7 separate regions of the Homo sapiens genome follow, and all the other regions are linked to region 1. The links are contacts of gene promoters, found by promoter capture Hi-C in blood cells and fetal thymus (Javierre and others, 2016). All regions are on one chromosome and are shown on one strand. The core of a region is centred on a gene start or on the middle of the fragment in contact, and the rest is flanking DNA. Distances in the headings are between cores, read along the strand shown. Region 1 holds the start of GPR162 (G protein-coupled receptor 162). Region 2 overlaps LTBR (lymphotoxin beta receptor). Region 3 has its middle 30 kb from the start of CD27. Region 4 holds the start of CD27 (CD27 molecule). Region 5 holds the start of VAMP1 (vesicle associated membrane protein 1). Region 6 overlaps CLSTN3 (calsyntenin 3). Region 7 overlaps NCAPD2 (non-SMC condensin I complex subunit D2).

The links. Contacts are between HindIII fragments. The CHiCAGO score rates a contact against its expected background, and 5 or more counts as called.
Region 2: a fragment that was not itself captured here is called in contact with the fragment with the promoter of GPR162 in region 1 in 2 of 17 cell types (non-activated CD4 T cells and total CD4 T cells); the score reaches 6.7 in non-activated CD4 T cells.
Region 3: a fragment that was not itself captured here is called in contact with the fragment with the promoter of GPR162 in region 1 in 1 of 17 cell types (activated CD4 T cells); the score reaches 5.1 in activated CD4 T cells.
Region 4: a contact is called between the fragment with the promoter of CD27 here and the fragment with the promoter of GPR162 in region 1, in 4 of 17 cell types (total CD4 T cells, activated CD4 T cells, naive CD4 T cells and 1 more). The highest score is 6.5, in total CD4 T cells.
Region 5: a fragment that was not itself captured here is called in contact with the fragment with the promoter of GPR162 in region 1 in 3 of 17 cell types (non-activated CD4 T cells, total CD4 T cells and naive CD4 T cells); the score reaches 8.1 in non-activated CD4 T cells.
Region 6: a fragment that was not itself captured here is called in contact with the fragment with the promoter of GPR162 in region 1 in 2 of 17 cell types (total CD8 T cells and total B cells); the score reaches 5.8 in total CD8 T cells.
Region 7: a fragment that was not itself captured here is called in contact with the fragment with the promoter of GPR162 in region 1 in 3 of 17 cell types (non-activated CD4 T cells, activated CD4 T cells and naive CD4 T cells); the score reaches 6.4 in non-activated CD4 T cells.

Annotation. Positions count from the first base shown.
Region 1 is chr12:6,820,163-6,823,224 of GRCh38, reverse strand. It overlaps GPR162 (G protein-coupled receptor 162), which reads right to left and starts at 1,404. Exons shown (of 5, transcript NM_019858.2): 1 at 1,325-1,404. CD4 (CD4 molecule) reads right to left here. Exons shown (of 10, transcript NM_000616.5): 10 at 2,426-3,062. RefSeq lists an enhancer at 1,421-2,393. The HindIII fragment of the contact is 21,739 bases long and covers 1-3,062 here.
Region 2 is chr12:6,391,309-6,394,370 of GRCh38, reverse strand. It overlaps LTBR (lymphotoxin beta receptor), which reads right to left. Exons shown (of 10, transcript NM_002342.3): 10 at 2,805-3,062. Among named protein-coding and RNA genes, the nearest start is that of LTBR, 8.7 kb to the right of the region's middle. RefSeq lists an enhancer at 2,898-3,062. The HindIII fragment of the contact is 2,950 bases long and covers 91-3,040 here.
Region 3 is chr12:6,413,807-6,416,868 of GRCh38, reverse strand. No RefSeq gene overlaps it. Among named protein-coding and RNA genes, the nearest start is that of CD27, 30 kb to the left of the region's middle. The HindIII fragment of the contact is 2,514 bases long and covers 274-2,787 here.
Region 4 is chr12:6,443,554-6,446,615 of GRCh38, reverse strand. CD27 (CD27 molecule) reads right to left here and starts at 1,661. Exons shown (of 6, transcript NM_001242.5): 1 at 1,385-1,661; 2 at 1,061-1,192. The coding sequence starts at 1,520. CD27-AS1 (CD27 antisense RNA 1) reads left to right here. Exons shown (of 6, transcript NR_015382.2): 5 at 2,899-3,062. RefSeq lists enhancers at 381-500, 1,210-1,389, 1,420-1,479, 1,024-1,525, 2,430-2,479 and 1 more. The HindIII fragment of the contact is 1,289 bases long and covers 961-2,249 here.
Region 5 is chr12:6,470,467-6,473,528 of GRCh38, reverse strand. VAMP1 (vesicle associated membrane protein 1) reads left to right here and starts at 2,852. Exons shown (of 5, transcript NM_014231.5): 1 at 2,852-2,999. The coding sequence starts at 2,998. It also overlaps a transcript of TAPBPL not described here. RefSeq lists silencers at 2,301-2,560, 2,771-2,820. The HindIII fragment of the contact is 938 bases long and covers 1,344-2,281 here.
Region 6 is chr12:7,152,953-7,156,014 of GRCh38, reverse strand. All of the region lies in intron 16 of CLSTN3 (calsyntenin 3), which reads right to left. Among named protein-coding and RNA genes, the nearest start is that of CLSTN3, 24 kb to the right of the region's middle. The HindIII fragment of the contact is 748 bases long and covers 1,256-2,003 here.
Region 7 is chr12:6,499,037-6,502,098 of GRCh38, reverse strand. The region is part of intron 2 of NCAPD2 (non-SMC condensin I complex subunit D2); the gene reads right to left. Among named protein-coding and RNA genes, the nearest start is that of NCAPD2, 6.5 kb to the right of the region's middle. The HindIII fragment of the contact is 435 bases long and covers 1,402-1,836 here.

The DNA of each region.
Region 1 (3,062 bases), core at 155-2,654:
CTTCCTCCTCCCGCTGGAACTCCCAGGTTCCTTCTTAGAACATCCCCTGCTCAGCACTACTCCACCCCTATCTTCAAGTCCCTAAATGTCTCTTCAGAACTACTGATGGGAGACACAAGACTGGTTTCCTCTTGAGGGTTCACAGTGAACTGGGATATGGCATCACAGCCTTCCTCCCCTACCTGCCGGTCTCCTGGATGCAGGGGTCTTGGTGCTTAGCCCCTACTTCCCCAAACCTGGGTGATCACCCTCCAGCTACCCATATCTGGGAAAATGGGAGAAAGGAGTCTGGGACCGAAGGGGGTGCTAGGGAACCTGAAGGCGGGGAAACCGCTGACATCAGAAGCATCCAGAAATGGAAAGAGGGGGAACTAGGGAGAAGGAGGAGAGTTTGAGCAGAAGAGAAAGAGGGGGCAAAGTGGTAGTATCTGAAAATAGCAGGAAAAGCTCAAACCCCCTGGAGAGGAGGCTTTGGAGGGAGGAGGGACTGGAGGAGGGAGGGAGGGAGGGAGCAGGGAATAGGAGGCTGAGAAGAAAAGCCAAATGTTCAATAAGGTGCTGACTCCCCGTGGGGAGACCTTGACTCTTCCTCCCTGGCCCAGAGCCTCAGTTTCCCTCTCATGGGAGGAAGGATGGTCCCAGTTTTAGTGCGTGATGCTGAGCTTCAGTGAGCCCTGGGAAGGGGGGTAAGGGAATCGGGTGAAACCCTGAACAGAGTGGGGCTGTAAGGAAGCACATAATGGCTTTAGGGTAAGTGGGGTAAAAATGGGGCACAGCAGTGAAAGGGTCTGTTTCCCATGGAAGCAGCTCAGACCCTTGCTTTCCCCAAGAGGTCCTGGTCCACCCCCACCCTTGGCTTCCCTCCGGAGCCCAGTACACCCTAGTTGCCATGGCAATGGCCAGCCAGAGGGAGGTGGAGGGACTTGGCCAAGAGCAGCCCCCAGTGTCCTCTCCTACAGCCCTGGACCCCTTCCCACCCACCTCCACCCAGGCCCAGCTGGTGGGCTCAGGATGAAAGAGATAGGGAGTCAGAGAGGGAAGGAGGCAGGAAAGATGTGAAGGACAGAGAGAGGGAGGTGAAGGACAGGGAGAGATCAGAGGAAGGTGGGAAGGGGGATCTGGGAGGTTCCCTGGCCGACGGGGTCCCTCGCCCTTTGGGGTGAAGGGGTAAGGTCAGGCGGCTCCTCCCTCCTGTCCCCCTCCAGGTTCTCCAGGGCAGAAACAGCAGGTGGCTGGGGAGGAGGGGCCGGCCTAGGGGAGAGGAGGCAGCTTGAGGGGGAAAGGGAGGCAACACAGGGGACGGGGCAGGCAGGGGTCGTCTTACCTCTCTCCGGCTGCGCCCAGCACTGCCATGGAGACCGCACTCCCGACGCGGCTCTCTCGGGCTCCCGCTGCCTGCCGGCTCCAGCTCGCCCGCCCTCCTCCCTCCTTCCCTCTCTCCCTCCCTCCCTTCCCCCGGGCCTCCCTCCTCCCCCTCAGTCCCGGCCTCCCAGGCTCAGCCCACGGCTCACTCGGTCTCTGCCCCTCTCACTCTCCAGGACCCTCTCTCCCGGGGTCGTCCTGCCAGTGAGCCCAGGCCAGAGGGAAGGCAGGACAGCTTTGTGGGGGGCGGGGGGGGGCGGGAAACGAGTGCAGGGTGGGGAACTGGACGGTGGTGACTCGGGGAGGAGGGGCAAGGAAGGCGCTGAGAGGGAGGGCGGTGAGGAGGATGGCTGGGAACCGGCTTCATTGGTGAAATGGTTCATGTCCTGCCCCCACCCCTTCCCGTTTTCAACACGAACACAAGCTCCAAGAGGCAGCTGGTGTTGTTGGGGACTGAGGAGCTAGCTGTTCGGGGAGGAGGAAGCGTGTGTCACTGTGTGTATCTGTGTGAGGGCTGGGCCTTGGGTTTGGGAGTGAGGGGGCTTGTGGTGCACACTGGGGCTGCTTGTGGAGTTGGGGGTGGTTGTGCACAAGCTAAAAGGATGTGGGCGCATGCATGCACACAGACACACACACTCTGCCTCCTCCTCCTGGAACACAAACACATATGTTGGGGATACAATTTGCACACACATGTTACAGTTTCTCATAGTCCTTTTTCTCTGCCACACACATACACCAGGAGAGCTCACACAACCCTGAGTCTCTCCCCCACGGTATATCACACACATGTAATTACAGAGTCTCAGCCTCACACACACACAGGCCCACACAGAGCCCTGTGGGTTGTGGAGGTGGGTAGCCAGCCTCCACAGAATTTTTCCCTCTCCAGGGAAACTTCATCTCCTTCCTGGGGCACGCCCAGCAACCTCTCCTCTGGGTCCGACCCCAAAGACCAGAAGATTCCTGGTCCCCAGAGAAGGGGTCTCTCTCTCTCTCTCTCTCTCACACACACACACACACACACACACACACACACACACACACGAAGAGCATCTTTATAGTAAGTTTATTGTATTTTTATTTCAGCTCAGGGGAGCAGGGGTGGAGAGTGGGCACAAATGCAAAGTAAGCAAATGGGGAGCCCCAGCAGCAATAGGGGGGTCTTCCTGGAAGAGGCAGGCTTTAAAGACAGGAGGAGAAGGAAATAGGGAAAAGGAGTTGGGACTGAGGGAAGTGGTGAGGAAGGGTAGGAAGAGAGGGGATCCTGAGAGAAGTGGATCAAGAAGATTTGTAACCCTGATTTCCCTGTGTCCTGAATGGTCTGGAGGAGGGTAAGGGAGGGTGTGGGGCAGGCGCAGAGCCTGGCACAATCACCTTTGAGGTCCCTTAGAGGGTTCCCTCTCAGGCTAGCTACCCCCTCTCCCAGCAAAGCTCGCTTCCAGGAGGTTCTGCACAGGGTCAGTGACTGGTCACTGGGCATTCTCTCCTGCAGTGCCTGTGCTCCCAGCTTGCGCTCTGATTAGAAGAGCCAAAGGCTTTGTCCTCTGGTAACAGATTCTGCCACCAGCGGGGGATGAAGGAGGGATTTTAGACAGGGAGGCCTTCATCCCTGCTCGTAAATTCTCTGAGATGGACCCTTCCCATGGGTGCTGTGCTTCTGTGAACCCAAAAGTACACATTGAGTACCCACCACTAGC
Region 2 (3,062 bases), core at 316-2,815, 430 kb after region 1:
TTGGGGAGGAGTGGCGTGGTCAGAAAGCAGCCATCCCCTTACCGTCCTCATGGTTTTTCTTGGCTCTGCCATCCCAGGGGATGCAAAGCTTCACTCCAAGTTCTGGGATATTCAGGGTGGTAAACTTGCCACAGGATTGTTGCTAGTTGAAATTCTGTTGGGGAGGAGAGAAGCCGGAGAACTCCTACTTTGACATTGTGTTGATGCCACTCTCAAAAAGGGAAATTCTGAATTACCCCATCCTCCCCCATCTCCCTGTGCTACTGCTCTGTCCCCAGTTCCATCCACCTTTCTTCTGGACTACAGCCTTGGCCCCCTAACGGGTGTCCCACCCCCGTGTTGATGTGGGTTGGACTTGGTGTTAGCTTTCTCCTCCCTGTGGTAGAGGATTAGGGTTCTCACAACCAACAGTTACCCCATTGTCAACTGCCATTGCATCCTGTTGCATCTTTTGAAGACCACCATCAAGAGGCTGTCTTTGTTGGTTTTCTGCCAGCTTTTCCTTGTAGACAGGAGCTCCCCTCTACGTGGCCTGTGCTCTGTGGATGTGTCCTGGAGCCTGTACTGACTCCACACTGGCAAAATAGACATGGGTAATGCTGTGGGTGGAACTGTGTCTCCCTCCAAAATCCACGTGCTGAAGCCCTAACTCCCAGGACCTCAGAATGGGGCCTTATTTGGAGACAGGGGCTTTAAAGAGGTGACTAAGTTAAAATGAGGTCATCAGGATGGGCCCTAATCCACTAAGAGAAGATTAGGACACACTCATGCACAAAGGCAAGACCATGTGAAGACATAGGTGGCAGGAAGGCCACCATTAGCAGGCCAAGGACAGAGGCCTCAGAGGACACCAACCTTGCCAACACGTTGACCTCTGACTTCCAGCCTCCAGAGCTGTGAGAAGATAAATCTCTGCAGCTTAAGCTATCGAGTCTGCAGTACTTTGTTATGGCGGCCCTAGAAAATTAATTTAGGCAGCCCAGGTGCAGTGGCTCATGCCTGCAATCTCAGCTCTTTGGGAGGCTGAGGTGGGAGGATCACTTGATCCCAGGAGTTTGAGACCAGCCTGGACAACATAGCAAGACCCCACTTCTTAAAAAAGAAATTAAAAAAAAATTAGCCAGGTGTGGTGGCACGCATCTGTAGCTCTAGCTACGTGGGAGGCTGAGGTAGGAAGATCATTTGAGTCTAGGAGCTGAGGCTATATGAGCCACGATTATACCACTGCACTCAAGCCAGGGCGACACAGTAAGACCCTGTCTCTAAAAAAATACAGGCAGGTATAATTATAAATTTGAATGGTGTCACAAAGGGCTGTGCTTCAGCATCATTTCTTTCAAAATATTTTCCTCCTTTTATTTTGTTGAAAAAAATGTATAAAATTTGTTTTTTATCTAAACACATTAGAACAATTATTAAGAATTCATGAGGTCTGGCCCCAGCATATTGCAGGGGCAGGAGGATTTAACTTTATTTAAAGATACAGCTCACCATTATTTACTTTTCAAAAAAGGAAGTTGGATGTGATATTTTCACAGTCAACCTTAAATGACCCATCCACTCCATTGGATCAGACGCCTTCTGAGGTGTGTGTTTTGCAGCCGCCCCACCCTGATGAGCTCCAGCGACAGAGTTCCTCATATCAGACCCATGAGAGTGGCCTTTTATGGAAGGAGCAGCCGGCTGGCAGCAGCTCCCTAACAATCCTGCAAGCTAAGATCCTCTCGACCGAGCACAGGAGAGAATTCAGGGGCAGGGAGGGGCAAACATTTACTAATAAGAGGGCTTGAGAAGATTTAAAGTCCTTTTTGGGGGTAAAAATAAAAGAAGACAAAAAGAAACCAAAAAAGTAAAAATCATAAATACTCTTTCTGAACCAAAAGGAGGCCAGCCTAGATTTCTGTTCACCAACAAAATGTGAACTTGGCCTCTCTCATTTTATGTCTAAAGTGCACACCTCAGGTCAGGCACGGTGGCTCTCACGCCTGTAATCACTGCATGTTCAGAGGCCAAGGCAGGAGGATTGCTTGAGCCCAGGAGTTCGAGACCAGCCTGGGCAACACAGGGAGACCTGATCTCTACTAAAAATACAAAAAATTAGCTGGGCGTCGTGGCACACACCTATAGCCCCAGCTACTTGGGAGGCTGAGGTGGGCGGATCCCTTGAGCCAGGAGTTCAAGGTTGCCATGAGCCATAATAGTGCCACTGCACAACAGCCTGAGTGACAGAATTAGATCCTGTCTCAAAAAAAAAAAAAAAAATTGCACACATTTCCCTTCAATCAACCTTGGAGAACATTTTTCACTTCGCGTGTGGCTAGATGTTTGAGAGTTGACTGAAAAGTAACACCTGCGGAACATGCAAGAGATCTGATTATTTGAGAAGGCCAGACCATTCTACCCGTTCAAAGAAATTCTGGAAGGGCGTGGTATATGAAGGCTTTTTTTTCCCCAAGAGGCCTCTAAAAGCCAGACGAACTAGGTGCAAATCCCAGCTTTGTCATTTGCAGCTGAATTGGGAAAGTTACCGCTCTGTGCCTCAGTTTCCTCATTTGTTAAATGGGAATCATATCTACCTTAGGGAGTTATTGTGAAGATTAAGTAAGTTAGTACTGTAAAGCATTGAGAACACTGCCTGGCACGTTGTCAGCCATCACTGACGAGACTGTTATTACCTGGACTATACTCACCAGCTCCTCACTGAAATATCTTTATGGGATTATATTTTAGTGTCTTGACCTTTGTCTTTGAGATTGTCTCCATGGAATAGTGTTTCTGTATAAATCCCAAGAAAATAAATTATCTAGGTCCCATTCTTTTTATTTGCATGTGGTTACAATATAAATACACTTGCCATTTTCCTCCCCTTCCAAAACTCTTCCCCATACCTAGGAATCCTACCCAACCCCCTAGTTGTTAATGACTCCCTTTCCTCTCCTCTAGGAGGGGAGGGAAGGAGCGTCCTCCCTATAATTTCATCTTCATGCAGGGTCTACCTCAGTCCACGTGAAGTGTGGAACCCCAAAGGGTCTCTGAAGCTTGGGGATGAGCACCACGAATCC
Region 3 (3,062 bases), core at 281-2,780, 410 kb after region 1:
AGGATGTAAGATGGACAGAAAGGGAAGTGAAAATGGAAGGAGCTGATGCCTGCAAACCAAGCAGAGGAGGCAGAGGACTGGCAGTCCTGAGCGAGGGGCTGAGGCATAGTGGGAATGGTTGAGCAAGAATTGAAGGTTGTGGTCAAAGAGTTTCCACATCTGAAAAGTGGAGGAAATGGCGAGTTGTAATGAGGATTAAAAGTGATAGAACTTGTGCTTCATATGCTGTTACACATTGTATCAATGTTTGTTTGTTTCAATAGTCTACAAGCTTCTTGAAGGTAGGAATCATGTCGCAGACATTCCTGTCCCTAGCATGGCACCTGATGCCAGCAGGTGCTTAGTGAACCTATGAGTGAATCTCTTAGAAGGATGAAGGAAAGAACTGATTTCCCTATAAGACTTTAGTGCTGTGAGAATTTTCTGGACTCTCTCGTTTTAATTTTCTGGACTCTCTAATTTTATTTTTATTTTTATTTTTTATGTTTTTGAGACAGAGTCTCTCTGTGCTGTCCAGGCTGGAGTGCAGTGGCACGATCTTGGCTCAGCACAACCTCTGCCTCCCAGGTTCAAGTGATTCTCCCCTCTCAGCCTCCCAAGTAGCTGGAATTACAGGTGTGCACCACCACACCCAGCTAATTTTTTGTATTTTTAGTAAAGACGGGGTTTCGCCATGTTGCCCAGGCTGGTCTTGAATGCCTGAGCTCAGGCAGTCTGCCTGCCTTGGCCTCCCAAAGTGCTATGATTACAGGTGTGAACCACCATGCCTGGCCAATTTTTTTTTTTTTTTTAATTTTTAGTAGAGACAGGGTTTCACCATGTTGGCCAGGCTGGTCTTTAACTCCTGACCTCAAATGATTCACTCGCCTCGACCTCCCAAAGTGCTGGGATTACAGGAGTGAGCCACTGCACCCGGCCTTTCTTGATCTTAATTGATCTAACAGGCAATAGTTTGTTCAAAATAATAATAGCATCGTGTATTTGGTCATATATATATATGTTACACATAAGTAAAATGAATGATGGTAGTAATACAAAGGATGGGGGAAGTAATTAGGATTATTTTGTTATTATAAGGTACTTGCACTACATGTGAAGTAGTATGGTGTTATTTGAAAGCAGACTTGGATTAGTTTTAACTGTATATTGTAAACTCCAGAGCAATCACTAAAATAAAAGAAATGGAAAAAAAACAAGTATAGCTGATATGCTAAGAGCAAGGAGAGAAAATGGAATAATACAAATGCTCACTTAAAATTACAAAAGCCAGAAAAAGAGCGGAAGATAAAAGTAGGAACAAACAAGAGCAACAATGAGAAAACAGTAACAAATATGATAGGTATGAATCCAACTATGTCAATAATCACCTCGAATGTCAGTGGGGTCTGAATGCATCAATTAAAAGACAGAGACTGTCAGAATGAATTTTTAAAAAGCCCCAACTATATGTTGTCTACAATAAACCCATTTTAAATATAAAGGCACATACAGACCAAAAGTGAGTGGATGGAGAAAGATATAGTTAGCATTAATTAAAACATAGTGGGGCTGGGTGCAGTGGCTCACATCTGTAATCCCAACACTTTGGGAGGCTGAGGCGGGTGGATCATGAGGTCAGGAGTTCGAGACCAGCCTGCCCAACATGGTGAAACCCCATCTCTGCTAAAAATACAAAAATTAGCCAGGGCTGGTGGCGTGTGCCTGTAATCCCAGCTTCTTGGGAGGCTGAGGCAGGAGAATTACTTGAATCCGGGAGGCAGAGGTTGCAGTGAGCTGAGATTGCGCCATTGCACTCCAGCTCTGGGAGACAGAGCAAGACTCCATCTTGAAAAAAAAAAAAAAGGAAAAAAAAACAACAGTGGGCGTAGCTATATTAATTTCAGATGGAGCAAATTTCAGAGTAAGCAAAATTATCAGGCAGAAAGAGGGGCATTAGTTTCAGATGGAGCAAACTTCAGAGTAAGCAAAATTATCAGGCAGAAAGAGGGGCATTACATAATGATAAGGGGGTCAATTCTGCAAGAAGACATAATCCTTGCTGTGTTGCACCTAATAACAGAGCATCAAAAATACATGAGGCAAAAATTGTTACAATTGCAAGGAGAAATGATGAATCCACTATTAGAGATGGAGACTTCAACATCCTTCTTCCAGAAATGGACAGATCCAGCAGGCAGAAAATCATTAAGGATGTAGTTGAAATCAGCAACACCATAAATAACTGGATATAATGAACATCTGTAGACTGCTTCACTCAGCAATGCATTCTTCTTACAGTCACATGGAACATTCACCAAGATAGACCACACTGTGGACCATAAAGCACACCTTAACAAATTTAAAAGAGTAGAAATTATGCAATGCCTGCTCTCAAACTACAATGAATTAAAGTAGAAATCAATAACAGAAAGATAGCTGAAAAATCTCAAAATACTTAGAAATTAAACAATGTGATTCAAACAACCCGTGGGTCAAAGAAGAAATCGCAAGAGAAATTTTAAAATATTTTGAACTAATGAAAATGAAAACACAACTTATCAAAATTTGTGGGATACAGCGAAAGTAGTGCTTAGAGGGAAATTTATAGCATTGCATGCATTATAGTAGGAAAGAAGAAAGATTTATTATACAATCAACTACCTTAGAAACTAGAAAAAAAAGAGTAAACTAAATCCAAAGCAAGCAGAAGAGAAGAAATATAACGATTAGAACAGAAAGCAATAAAATTGAGAACAGGAAATGAGTAGAGAAAATCAACAAAACCAACAACTGGTTCTTTGAAAAGCTTAATAAAATTGGTAAGCCTCTAGTGAGACTAACCAAGAAAAAAATCAAGACAGAAATTACTAATGTCAGAAGTGAAAGAGGGGACATCACCACAGAGCCCATAGAAATTAAAAGGAGAGGACCGGGCACGGTGGCTCATGCCTGTAATCCCAGCACTTTGGGAGGCCGAGGCTGGTCGATCACTTGAAGTCAGGAGTTGAGACCAGCCTGGCTAACATGCTGAAACCCCATTTCTACTAAAAATACAAAAAATTAGCCGGGCATCTTGGTGCGCA
Region 4 (3,062 bases), core at 412-2,911, 380 kb after region 1:
GTCTCACTATGTTGCCCAGCTGGTCTCAAGCTCCTGGGCTCAAGTCTCTACAAAATATGCAAATACCCTTCTGCCTTGGCCTCCCAAGTGCTGGGATTATAGGCATGAGCCACCACATCTGGTGTTGGTTTTTGTTTTTGTTTTTACGGGACCAGGCACTACAGCTCACACCTGTAATCCTGGCACTTTCAGAGGCTGAGACTAGAAGATTGCTTGAGCCCAGGAGTTCAAGGCTGTGGGGAGCTATGATTGCACCACTGCACTCCAGCCTGGGTGACAGAGCTAGACCTTGTCTCTAAACTAAACAAAACAAAACCCAGTACCAAGAGACCCAGTGACACCAAACACGTTTTGCAAGTAGGTAGTTTAATAGTTACAGTTACCTGGTTCTAAAAAGTGTCTTGCTAGAGAACATTTGTTCAAAGGGGCCACTTTAAAGCCTGCTATTCTAGTGTATACTGGCCGTAGTTTCTGAAATTGTAGCGAAGATGGAGAAATAATAACAGCATTCATAAGCACAACTGCAGATATTATACTTCTTAGTTTAAAAAAAACCTTTTTTTTTGGAACTATAAAATAAAAACACAGGCTACATACATACTCATTTTCTCAAATTGGCTTTTGTGCAAAAAAAGGTTGTTACCTATTGGGTTGCTTTGTTATTTCCTTAGAAAGATGTATTCCAAATTCCCAATGGCCAACCTGCACATGTGCACTCTGGGAACACAGTCAGTTTATTGGTTGGGGGTTGCTTGCCCGAAATCTGGGGTCATAGAGCCACTTCTCTCATTTTATTGTCTTGATCCTATCCATAGACCCGTTCTCACCAATCCCTCAAATTCTATTTATCCCTTTCCTGGAATACTAGATGTCTGCCCACGTTAATTCATGCCCCACCTAGGGTGCCGCATTTCCCAGCATTGGCTCCACTTGCTGTGAGCCTTGAAGAAGGCCAAAGCTTTGGCCCCGTCATCCTCCTTGCACCCCCAAACCCGTCACCAGCCTTGCTCCCCCAGATGCTTGTCCATCGTCCCCACCTACACACCCTTGCCCACCTCACCAGAGTTACAGTGCCGACAGCTCTCACAGTGGGGCCGGGTGTGGTGGTCAGGAGAGAAGGAGACCCCCGGTATGCAAGGATCACACTGAGCAGCCTTTCTATGCTGGTCACAGTCCTTCACGAGGAATGTTCCTGGGAGGAGAGGGTAAGGGATCAAGGCCTGAGAAGGGCTGGTTCTCTGCCCTCTTCAAGGTGGTGCCTCCCCACAGCTGCAGGATTTCCCTCCTTGCTTGAGCTCAGTCTCACCCTGCGCCTATTTACTGTATTAACCCCAGTCCTCTCTCTTTCGCCACTCACCTGGCCCTTACCAAGGCCCCCTCTTACCTGGCTCACACATCTGGCAGCACAGCTTTCCCTGAGCCCAGTAGTGCCTCTCTGGGCAGCTCTTGGGGGCTGGAGTAGCTGAGAGCCCCACCAGGGTCCCCAGAACGCACAGCCACCAGGGATGTGGCCGTGCCATGGTCCCTGCCCAGGCGGCTCCTTTCTGTGCCCAGTTGCTGATGCTGGCCTCTGGAGTTAGCACCTCCAAGCTGGGCGCTGCTGTCTCTTCTTTGCACCCCCTGGGCAGTGGCTGCTTCAGGTGGCAAGCCAACCTTTGAAGGCAGAATCTCTATTGTGGCTGTTTTTTTTTTCTCTCTCATAGCAGCAACCTCCACCCCCTTCCCCTTCCGTGTGCTGGGGAGAGTATTAAAGAGCAAACTCTGTGAGACCTGCTGCTCTTCAAACATGCTTCCTCCAACACATGAGCCTTCCTTAGTTTCCGCCTCTCCTGCTCATGAAGCACGTAGCCCACTGACTCCTGCTTCTTTGACAAAAAGGTGATGGACACACAGTTGCTCACCCCTCCTATTCATGCACTTGTGCACAAAGGTGCCCACGTTACCCCCCCCCACCCACCCCCCCGTCCACAGTTTACAGACGAATTCGCAGGACTCCTGTCTCCCATACCTGCATCCCTCCTTTCACAGACAACAGTTGAAAGAAGGAAGGAGAACCAGAATTGAGCACAGGTCCACAAGCTCTTATCTGAAACTTTGGGGGTCAGATAAGTTTTGGAATTCAGAATTTTTCAGGTTTATACAGAAACCAGCACCACAAAACACCCTTGGGGAGTTGGGGTAGTCTCATAATCAAACGCAACATTTCTGCAGCAAAACTATTGAATATTTACACCAACTGGGAGGAAGCTTAAATAGCCTTGTCTCAATTGAGGTCTGGTTTGATGGCCAAACGAGTTTGCTACAGAATGCTCAGAATTGCAAGCAAGGGGTGTAGAGCTGCCTCTCTTCTGTCACACTCTGACCGATCACCTATGCTCTCCTTTAATCCTCATGTCAGTCTCTGATGTGGGTGCCACCTACTGCCCACATGGCCTTCCCTCTCAGACCCTTGCTCACTCCTCACTTTTGTGCCATCTTTATCCTCCCCTTTCCCACCTCTGGCTGTGTCAGTCACTGGTGTCCTGGATCGCCTGGAGCATCTTCTCTCCTAGCCTTGGGCACTTGGGATTAAAGGTAGCTTCCTACGGGGGTCATCTCTTTTTTATTTTCCCAGTTCTCCCAGCAAGACTGATTTCGGGATATTGGAAACAGCTAGACTTTTCCCTCTTTGAGTCATGGGGACACACACGGGTCAACAGCCTCCTCCACTCTTTCCTCAGCAACCGATATGTGGAGTGGCTTATTTCCCCAGGAAGTTTTTAATTTAGGGGCTTTGCCGTTGTTTCCACACTGTTCATAAATGTCACACTGCTGTGGTCACACCTGTCAGATCTGTTCTCTATCTCACTCTGTAGTTTCCTTTCTCCTCATTTTCTCCATTCTCTTGTCTTTTCCCAGCCCCCTCTGCAGCTCTTCATGGGGGTCCACTCAAGTCAGAAGCCACATTTGGGTGTGATTCAGAGAGCTGTTTATGCAAAACCAGCTTTGTCACCATCAGGCAAGGCACCTGAATTCCCACCGCAGAGAGTGTTGTGGCCGTGAGGACTTTTCTGTCACCAGCC
Region 5 (3,062 bases), core at 563-3,062, 350 kb after region 1:
CACTGCACTCCAGCGTGGGCGACAGAGGGAGACTCCGTCTCAAAAAAAAAAAAAAAAAGTTTAAAAAATGCCACCCCCTCAACCCCGTTTTTTTGAGACAGGGTCTCACTCTGTTGCCCAGGTTGGAGTGCAATGGTGTGATCATGGCTCACTGCTTTCTTGACCTCCTCAGGCTCAGGTAATCCTCCCACCTCAGCCTCCCAAGTAGTTGGAACTACAGGTGTGTGCCACAATACCCAGCTATATTTTTTTGTATCTATTTCTTGTAGAGACAGGATTTCACCATGTTGTCCAGGCTAGTCTTGAACTCCTGGGCTCAAGTGATCCTCCTGCTTTGGCCTCCCAAAATGCTGGGATTATAGGCGTGAGTCACCATTCAATGATTTTAAGTTTTTTTTCAGGGGAAAGTTGGTGGGAATAAATAGGCATTCATGCTGCCAGAAATATTTCCTCCCATTCTTTTTTCTTTTCTTTTTCTTTCTTTCTTTCTTTTTTTTTTTTTTTTTGAGACAGTCTCATTCTGTTGCCCAGGTTGGAGTGCAGTGGCAAGATCTCGGCTTACTGCAGCCTCCGCCTCCCGGGTTCAAGTGATCCTCCTGCCTCAGTCTCCCGAGTAGCTGGGACTACAGGCGTCCATGCCCAGCTAATTTTTGTATTTTTAGTAGAGACGGGATTTTGCTGCGTTAGCCAGGTTGGTCTTGAACTCCTGGCTTCAAGTGATCCGCCCTCCTTGGCCTCCCACATTGCTGGGATTACAGGTGTGAGTTACTGCGCCTGGCCCTTTTTCTTTTCTTTTGGAGATAGGGTCTCATTTTGTCACCCAGGTGGGAGTGCAGTGGCGTGATCTCGGCTCACTGCAACCGGAACATCTGGGCTCAAGCTGTCCTTCCGCCTCAGCCCCCCAAATAGCTGGGACTACGGGAGTGAGCCACCACGCCCGGCCCCATTCTTTTTGTCTTTGGGGGCTTATAATTTTTTGCAAATTTTCCCAAATTGTCATTTTTCCCCCTAACTTGCCATTTTGATGTGGTTTCAGGAGGAGAATGGGATAAACACATATGATGAATGCATTATGTTTCCAAGTGCAATTGTTTCCTTAAGAAGACTTGTGACATTTGGATAGATAACTTTGGTGGACTTTTTAGAGAATAGATGTAAAGGATGGCAAGACTGGAAGCAGAATGATGTATCATTGATCTTAGGAGGCACTTGGGTTTTTTGTGTGTGCTTGTTTGTTTGTTTTTTTGCATTTCAATATCTTCTAATTGGGATGTTTCACTTTAGCTATTAGTCAGACAGCAGTCAAACTATATTTGTCATACCTGCTCATGAGCATCAAAGCTTGCCAAATGGGTGTCTGAGGCTTGGAAGAAAACTCTAGAGCCTGGAGAGGAACACTCTTAGGAAATGCTGCATCACCAAAGCCCTTATGAAATGCACAGAGGACTACATTGCGTGGAAATTAGTGGACATCCAAGACTGAGTCAAAAAAGTGAATCATTAACAATCAGTCTCTGTGAAGTTTTAGGGATAGTTACCATGTTATTGTTTTCTATTTCCCTTTTTATGCATGCACAAGAGTGAAATATAGAAATCGGTATGTATATAAACCCATATTTTCAATACATGTAAAACAAAAATGCTAAGTGGTAAGGAAAGCATTTGTCACAGATAATTTGCAACCTTTTTTCTTTTTTTTTTTGAAACAGGGTCTTGCTCTGTTGCCCAGGCTGGAGTGCAGTGGCGTGATCTCGGCTCACTGCAACCGTCGGCTCCCGGCTTCAAGCGATTCTCTTATCTCAGCCTCACGAGTAGCTGGGATTACAGGCGCCCGCCACCATGCCTGGCTGTTTTGTATTTTTAGTAGAGACAGAGGTTTCGCCATGTTGGCCAGGCTGGTCTCGAACTCCTGATCTCAGGTAATCTGCCTGACTCGGCCTCCCAAAGTGCTGGGATTACAGGTGTGAGCCACTGCGCCCGGCCTTGTAACCTTTTTTCTTAGCGGGACATAAAATAATGGTGAATTTTCCAACTGATGGAGTCCAGGAAAGGGATAATAGTGAGCAGAGGGGAGATAATCACTGGAATGCCAAGAAGGAAAAATCAACTCGATTTGGCAGATTACTGGGGGAGAGGTAAAGGTGAAGGGGAGGAAATCTAGGATGGTTTCCACGTTTCTGGTCTGGGCAACTGAGTCGATGTGGTAACCTCGACTGGAGCAGGTTTGGGAGGGAGTTCAATTTAGGAAGGCTATGTTGAAAGAAACGAATGAACGAAAGCTTCGTGCTTGCTTTGGTGGGACGGAACCCCGCATCCGGTATCTGGCACCAGGAGCTTGTGGCTGTGTCTCGAGGCTCCTGCACCCTCTCAGAGCGTTAGTTAGAGGCGGGGCGGTGGTGCGGAGCGAGGGCCAGAGCAGGGCACCAGGGCTGGGCGCGCACCAGGAAGCCGCCGCCTCCAGCTGAATGCGCGAGTCCCGGCGCGGGGTGGGGCAGGGGCGGGCACGGTCTTCAGTAACTGCCTAGCGATTGGTTGGGAGGCACCACAAATGCCTAACAAACTGCTGAAGCGCCCTCCGAAGGGACAGACCTCATCTCCACCCCGCCCCGTCCCTCCGCCAGACTGGAGCGCAAACTATGGTCGCATTGATCACTGAAGGATCCTCACAGCAACCGCTCCTTTCCGGAGTCGGATGAGAGGAGAGTTGTGACTGGCAATTGGCAGGGGCGGGGCGGGCTAGGCCTGTAGCGCTGGGCGACCGTCCTGGGCATGGATTGGGCCGCGGGGTTGTCACCGTTATCCGGGAGGCGTGGTCAGCACTAATAAAGGCGGAGGCCGGCGCGGCAGCTGCAGTAAGTTCCAGCGCAGCTAGACCGCGGGGTAGTCGGCGCGAGGCGGAGCTTGGCAGTTCCGTCCACTTCAGCCGCAGCGTCCCTCACCGGGTGTCTCGCCGCAGCCTCCGGAGAGGAACAGACCCTCACTCTCTCTGTCAGAAAAATGTGAGTTGACTCTGGTGTGGGGGCTCGGCACCTCCTTGACAACTCTCGCCCCAAGCTCCCGAT
Region 6 (3,062 bases), core at 380-2,879, 330 kb before region 1:
TGTCAACAGACAGAGCAGAGCGTAGGGAAGCGCATGGCCCAGGAGCTCCTCACACTCACACCCACACCCTGCTGCAGCGCCCCTCTCCCCAGCAGCCAGCACACTCAGCTGCCACGCACTCCAGGGCCAACTAGGTGTGTGGAGAATGCCCTGCCTGGGCAGGCCACACACCTCCCTGAGGCCACCCTGATGGCTGTCTGCCAAGTTGGTCCCCATCCTGACCCACAGCCCACTTGAGGCCACCAGCCAATTAGAACGGACTCTGCTGGGGCACACTCCCTCGACACTGGTTCCAAGGTGAAGACAGGACTGGCTGGATCAGTATTTCTCAACTTCCTGGGAACGGGGGATAAGGGAGGAGGGGACAGAGCTGTCTCTCCTGCCCATCTGCAGGAAATAGTGTCTCTCAGGTCTCCACGTCAACAGACCAGAGCCAGGGGCAGTGCCTTCACTGGCAGATGGGCCCAGTGGCTAAGCCCAGGCTCCAGAAGGGGTGGTGACCCCACCCTCAGAGTGGAGGCCAAAGCAGGTGAACTTCCTCTAAGCACACAACGATGACGAGCTAAAGCTGGTTTGCGCCCTAATCAATGCAGTGTCCCTCCGAGCTCCTGGCCTAATGAAGGAAATGACAAGTTGATTGCCAGGACAATAAGAAATGACCACAGGAAAGACAAAATGCAGACACTCTATCTACAAGCAAACAAGTCTGGTTAATTAGTTTAAGATGAGTCAGGAGCCCGGGGAGATGGGAGGATTTTTAAATCAGCTACAGATAAAAATCAAGAATTTAAGAAGTGCGTTCAGCTTTTCTTGCTACATGAGATCTGAGCAGTTAATTCTGGCCTTGAATGACCTCCAGAGCCAACATTAAGGGGTGACTTAGCAAATGGTCCATGGGATTGCGAGGACAGTGGAAAGCCCTGTCCATGGCCCCACACGGTGCTCTCTTTGCAAAGAGCCTTGGGAGAGATTTCTTTCTGCCCCCCGCACTCCCAGGGCTTTTCATGAAATAGCGTTTGGCTCCTATCACGGCTCTCAGAACTGCTCAGGTTTCCTTTTGCTTTAGCTTTGAAGAAGCTCAGGGTCAAAATTCTGGCCCGTGGTAGCAACTGCATAGCATCTCATAGTACGCATGTTATGAGCTGACTTTATTCCCTGGCTTCATTGGATCCTTATTTCATCATTACCTGTTCCTCCTTACTTCCTCATTCATTTTCTTTTTGTCCTATTGCTTTGTAACTCTTTCTGCAAAGCTTCAGATACTTGTAGGAAACAAAAGAGGAAAATTATTCCCAAACTTTTAAAGATTACATGGGATTTTTAAAAACCACTGACACGTGGCTCCCACCCCCTAGACATTCTAGGGTATAATTTAGGTGCCGAGAGTTTTTAAAGCTCCCCAGGTGATTCTGGCAGTCATCAAAATTTGATATGAGTAGATACATAATACCCTCATCATCCGGCTTGCTCTTCTCAACCAACCTTATTCTCTCTAACCATAAACACTCTTAACCACCTATCTACCCCCGGTTCTCAAATTCCCATTCTCTCTCACACCCATCCAAAAATCCCTTTTACAGTTCAGGTCCAAATGCAAACTCTACATGTGCCACAAAATCTCCCCTGACTGTTCCAGTTTACCCTGGTTCCAGTTCACATTCATCTCTCTTTCTCTAGTGCACTTAGGAGATTTAGAGCAATGGGCCTCCGTGCCACTGGAGGAGATCGTACCTCTCACTGCTTCTGCATGTTTAGAATGGTTTGATATTGTGAAACCACAGTTCTGCAACACCACTCGAGATTTGTAGGTGAAAGGGAGGGAGCACCTTGCGGAGTCAGAAAAGGCATATGGAAAGGGTTTTATGCCGTGAATGGCCTGTCAGCTCAGGCATGCCAATCACCAGTGCCCTCAGGGAAGCTACGAACTCTGTGTCCTATTCAGGTCAAAATAAGAGAAGAAGCAAAGGAAAACTGCTGCTCTCAACTGAAATCTGAGGGAAGCTTGATCAGCCTGGACATGAGCTCAGAACAAAGGATGGGGAGACTGGGCTTCACCGAGGGGAGGTGAAAGGGTGCCGTGAACAGACACTCCTCCAGGGGCTGAGGGGTGAGAAACGCTGCCCGCCAGACCAGCCCATGCAGGGCAGCTGGACACTCAGGGGAGAAGGTGCTGGGCTCCTAGAACAAGAAGTCTCTCACCTGGGGCCTTATACCAAAGAAAGTAAGGATCGAGAATCTCACCAGGCCAGGCAGCACCCCTATCTACCTTGAGCCTAATCAGAGTAGCAGGACCTAGTATCCAACCAGAAAAGATTGAGTGGAATGATCCCCAATGAAAGAACTGGAGAAAGTGCTATGGAATCACAAGAAGGAAAAAAATTTATAGCTGGCCTCAAGAGTTTATTTGAAATAAATAGGTTTAGCTTGCTAACATGTCTCTATTGACTAAATACTATGTGAAACTTCTCTAATCTTTGCAGCTTGGTTATGCCTTATATTCCCCGCTAATCCTCACTTCCACCTACTTGCTATAGTGAATCACAGTAGAACACTGAAAAAGGCGTCTGCAAGTCCAAGTGCGGCGGCTCACACCTGTAATCCCAGCACTCCGGGAAGCTGAGCCAGGATGACCGCTTGAGCCTAGGAGTTCAAGACCAGCCTGAGCAACAAAGTGAGACCTTGTCTCTATAAAAAGTCTTAAAAATAGCCAGGCATAGTGGCATGCATCTGCTCCTCAGGGGGCTAAGGCAGGAGGATTGCTTGAGCTCAGGAGTTCGAGGCTCCAGTGAGCTAGGATTACCACTGCTCTCCAGCCTAGGCGACAGAACAAGACCCTGTCTCTCCCTCCCAAAAGCCTCTGCGGTTGTTTTCAGGGACAGCAAGGAAGAAGGGAGCCAGTCCCAGAAAAATAAAATAAAATAAAATAAGAGACAGTGTAGGTGGTGGCCGTTGCACAAGGAGAGGAAGCCAGACTGAATCCCTGGGGGCATCAGAGGAGCTGGCCTCAGTCAGAAAACCCTGGGAAGCCCCTCAGGGGCTCCCCCTAATTATATGCAACTCTA
Region 7 (3,062 bases), core at 370-2,869, 320 kb after region 1:
CTGCAGCATCAGCTTTTCCCTCTCTGATCATTCCTACTCAATATAGACACACATAATGCTGCCCATCTTAAAAGAAATACATTATGTAAATTCATCATCTCTAATCTCTGTCATTCCATTTTCTTAAAAACCTATTCCTAGCAGGCTTTTGCCCCCACCATCTCCTGAAACAGCTTTGTCAAGGTTACCAGTGACTATGACATCAATAAATCCAGTAGTTAATCTGCAGTTGACCTCTCTTTTGTTTTTGAAACACTCTCTTTATTTAGCGTCCATTTAGCTCCTTCATTCGCTTTCTGCCCCAATGACTGCTTCTTAATTTCTTCTACTGGTTCTTCTTCATCCTCCTAGCCTCTAAATGCTGGACTGTCTCAGGTCTTGGTCTTCAAACTGCTGCTCTTCTCCATCTACACTCACTGCAATCTCATGGCTTTAAGTGCTGTCTACACGCTGAGTATTAAATCCTAAATGTGTATCTTTAGCTGACAACCTCTCCCTTGAACTCTGCACTCACATAACCAACAATCTAAACCTCTCCCTCCCATATGCTACCCCATCTCAGTAAATGGCAACTTCATTCTTCTAGTTGCTCAAGTCAAAAAGCCTTGTAAGGCCGGGTGTGGTGGCCCACGCCTGTAATCCCAACATTTTGGGAGGCCGAGGCAGGCAGATCACTTGAGGCCAGAAGTTCAAGACCAGACTGGACAACACGGCAAAACCGCATCTCTACTAAAAATACAAAAATTAGCCAGGTGTCGTGACCCTGGGAGGCGGAGCTTGCAGTGAACCGAGATGGTGCCACTGCACTCCAGCCTGGGCGAGAGAGCGAGACTCTGCCTAAAAAAAAAAAAAAAAAAAAAAAAAAAAAAAATTAGCCAGGCGTGGTGGTGCACACCTGTAATCCTAGATACTCAGGTGGCTGAGGCATGAGAATTGCTTGAACCTGGGAGGCAGAGGTTGCAGCGAGCCAAGATCACGCCACTGCACGCCAACCTGGGTGACAGAGCCAACAGAGCAAGACTGTCAAAAAAAAAAAAAAAAAGCCTTGTAATCATTCTCATCTCAGATTCCTTTACTAACCCTATAATCCAATCCAATCCATCAGCATTCCTGTAAAAGCTCTACTTTGAAAATATATCCTGAGTCGTTTTATCACCACTTCCCCTGCTATCCCTCCAGTCCAATCTACTTGGTATTACTGTATTAGCCACTTAACTAGTATCCCTGCTTCTCTCCTTGCCTCTTATAGTCTCTGCTCAACACAGTCGCCAGTGAATCTTTTAAAATGTCAGACCATGTCACTCCCATGCTCAAAACCCAATGGCTTTCAAGTTCATTCACACTGAAGTTCAAGTTTTTGCCATGATCTACGAGGCTCTAGAGATCAGTGCTTCTCAAGCTTATAATTGCATCCAAATTGCCTGGGGGAATCTTCTTAAAATACAGATTTCCTGATTCAGCAGCTTTGACATCCTGGGCCTTGACATCCTGCATTTCTAATAAGCTCCCAGATCATGAGATCCTGATATTAACACTGCTGATCTGAGGACCACATTTTGAGGAGCAAGATTCTAGAATAATCTGTACCACTTCCTACCTAATCTCTTTTTCCTAGCTTAATGCACTCCAACTCTATTGGCATTTGCCCACCTCAAGGCCTTTGCATAGGCTTTTCTGTTTGCTTGGAATGCTCTTCCCTAACAATCTGCATAGTTTATTTCCTTACTTTCTTAAGGTCTCTGCTCAAACGTGACGTAACAGCAAGCCTTCTCTGATGATCCAACATGAAATGACAGGTCCTACTATCTTCTTCTTTATATTATTTATTTTTAAGCTTTGTATAATTAATTTTAGAGACTATGTTGCCCAAGCTGGTCTTGAACTCCTGGCCTTAACAATCCTGCTTCTGCCTCCCAAGTGGTTGGGATTACAGGGACAAGCCACCATTCCCAGTACACTTCTTTTTTTTTCTTTTTTGAAACAGGGTCTAGCTCTGTGGCCAGGTTGCAGTGCAGTGGCATGATCATGGCTCACTGCAGCCCCTGCCTCCTGGGCTCAAGCAATTCTCCCACCCCAGCCTCCCAAGTAGCTGGAACTACAGGTGTGCACCACCACGCCTGGCTAACTTTTTTGTAATTTTGGTAGAGATGGGGTTTCACCATGTTGGCCAGGCTGGTCTCAAACCCCTGAGCTTGAGCAATCCAACCACCTTGGCTTCCCAAAGTGCTAGGATTACAGGTGTGAGCCACTGCGCCTGGCCACACTGTCTTCTTTATTTTTCTCTTTGGCTCTTACAACCATCTTACACACAGTGGTCCTCACCAATCTGTGTTCTCACTTTCTGGGGTTTCAGTTACCCGTGGTCAATCTCAAGTCTGAAAATATTAAATGAAATATTCCAGAAATAGGCTGGGCACAGTAGCTCACGCCTATAATCCCAGAACTTTGGGAGGCCAAGTTGGGCAGATCACCTGAGGTCAGGAGTTCGAGACCAGCCTGGCCAACATGGTGAAACCCCAGCTCTACTAAAAAATACAAAAAAAATTAGCTGGATGTGGTGGTGGGCACCTGTAATTCCAGCCACTTGGGAGGCTGAAGCAGGAGAATTGCTTGAACCTGTGAGGTGGAGGGTGCAGTGAGCCGATACCTTGCCACTGCACTCCAACCTGGGCGACAGAGCAAAACTCCGTCTCCAGAACAACAAAAAAACCCCCCAAGAATTAGCCAGGCGTGGTGGCACTTACCTGTAGTCCCAGCTGCTTGGGAAACTGAGGCAGGAGAATTGCTTGAGCCCAGGAGGTGAAGGTTGCAGTGGGCTGAGATTGAGCCACTGCACTCCAGCCTGGTCAACAAAGCAAGACCCTTATCTTAAAAAAATAAAAAGAAAGAAAGAAAGAAATATTCCAGAGATACACAATTCATAAATTGTAGGTTGTGTGTCATTCTGAGTAGCATAAAATCTGGTGCTGCCCTGCCGCCTCCTGCCTGGGATGTGAACCATCCCTTTGTCCAACATATCCACACTGTATATGCAACCCTACTCACCCATTAGTAGCCACCTT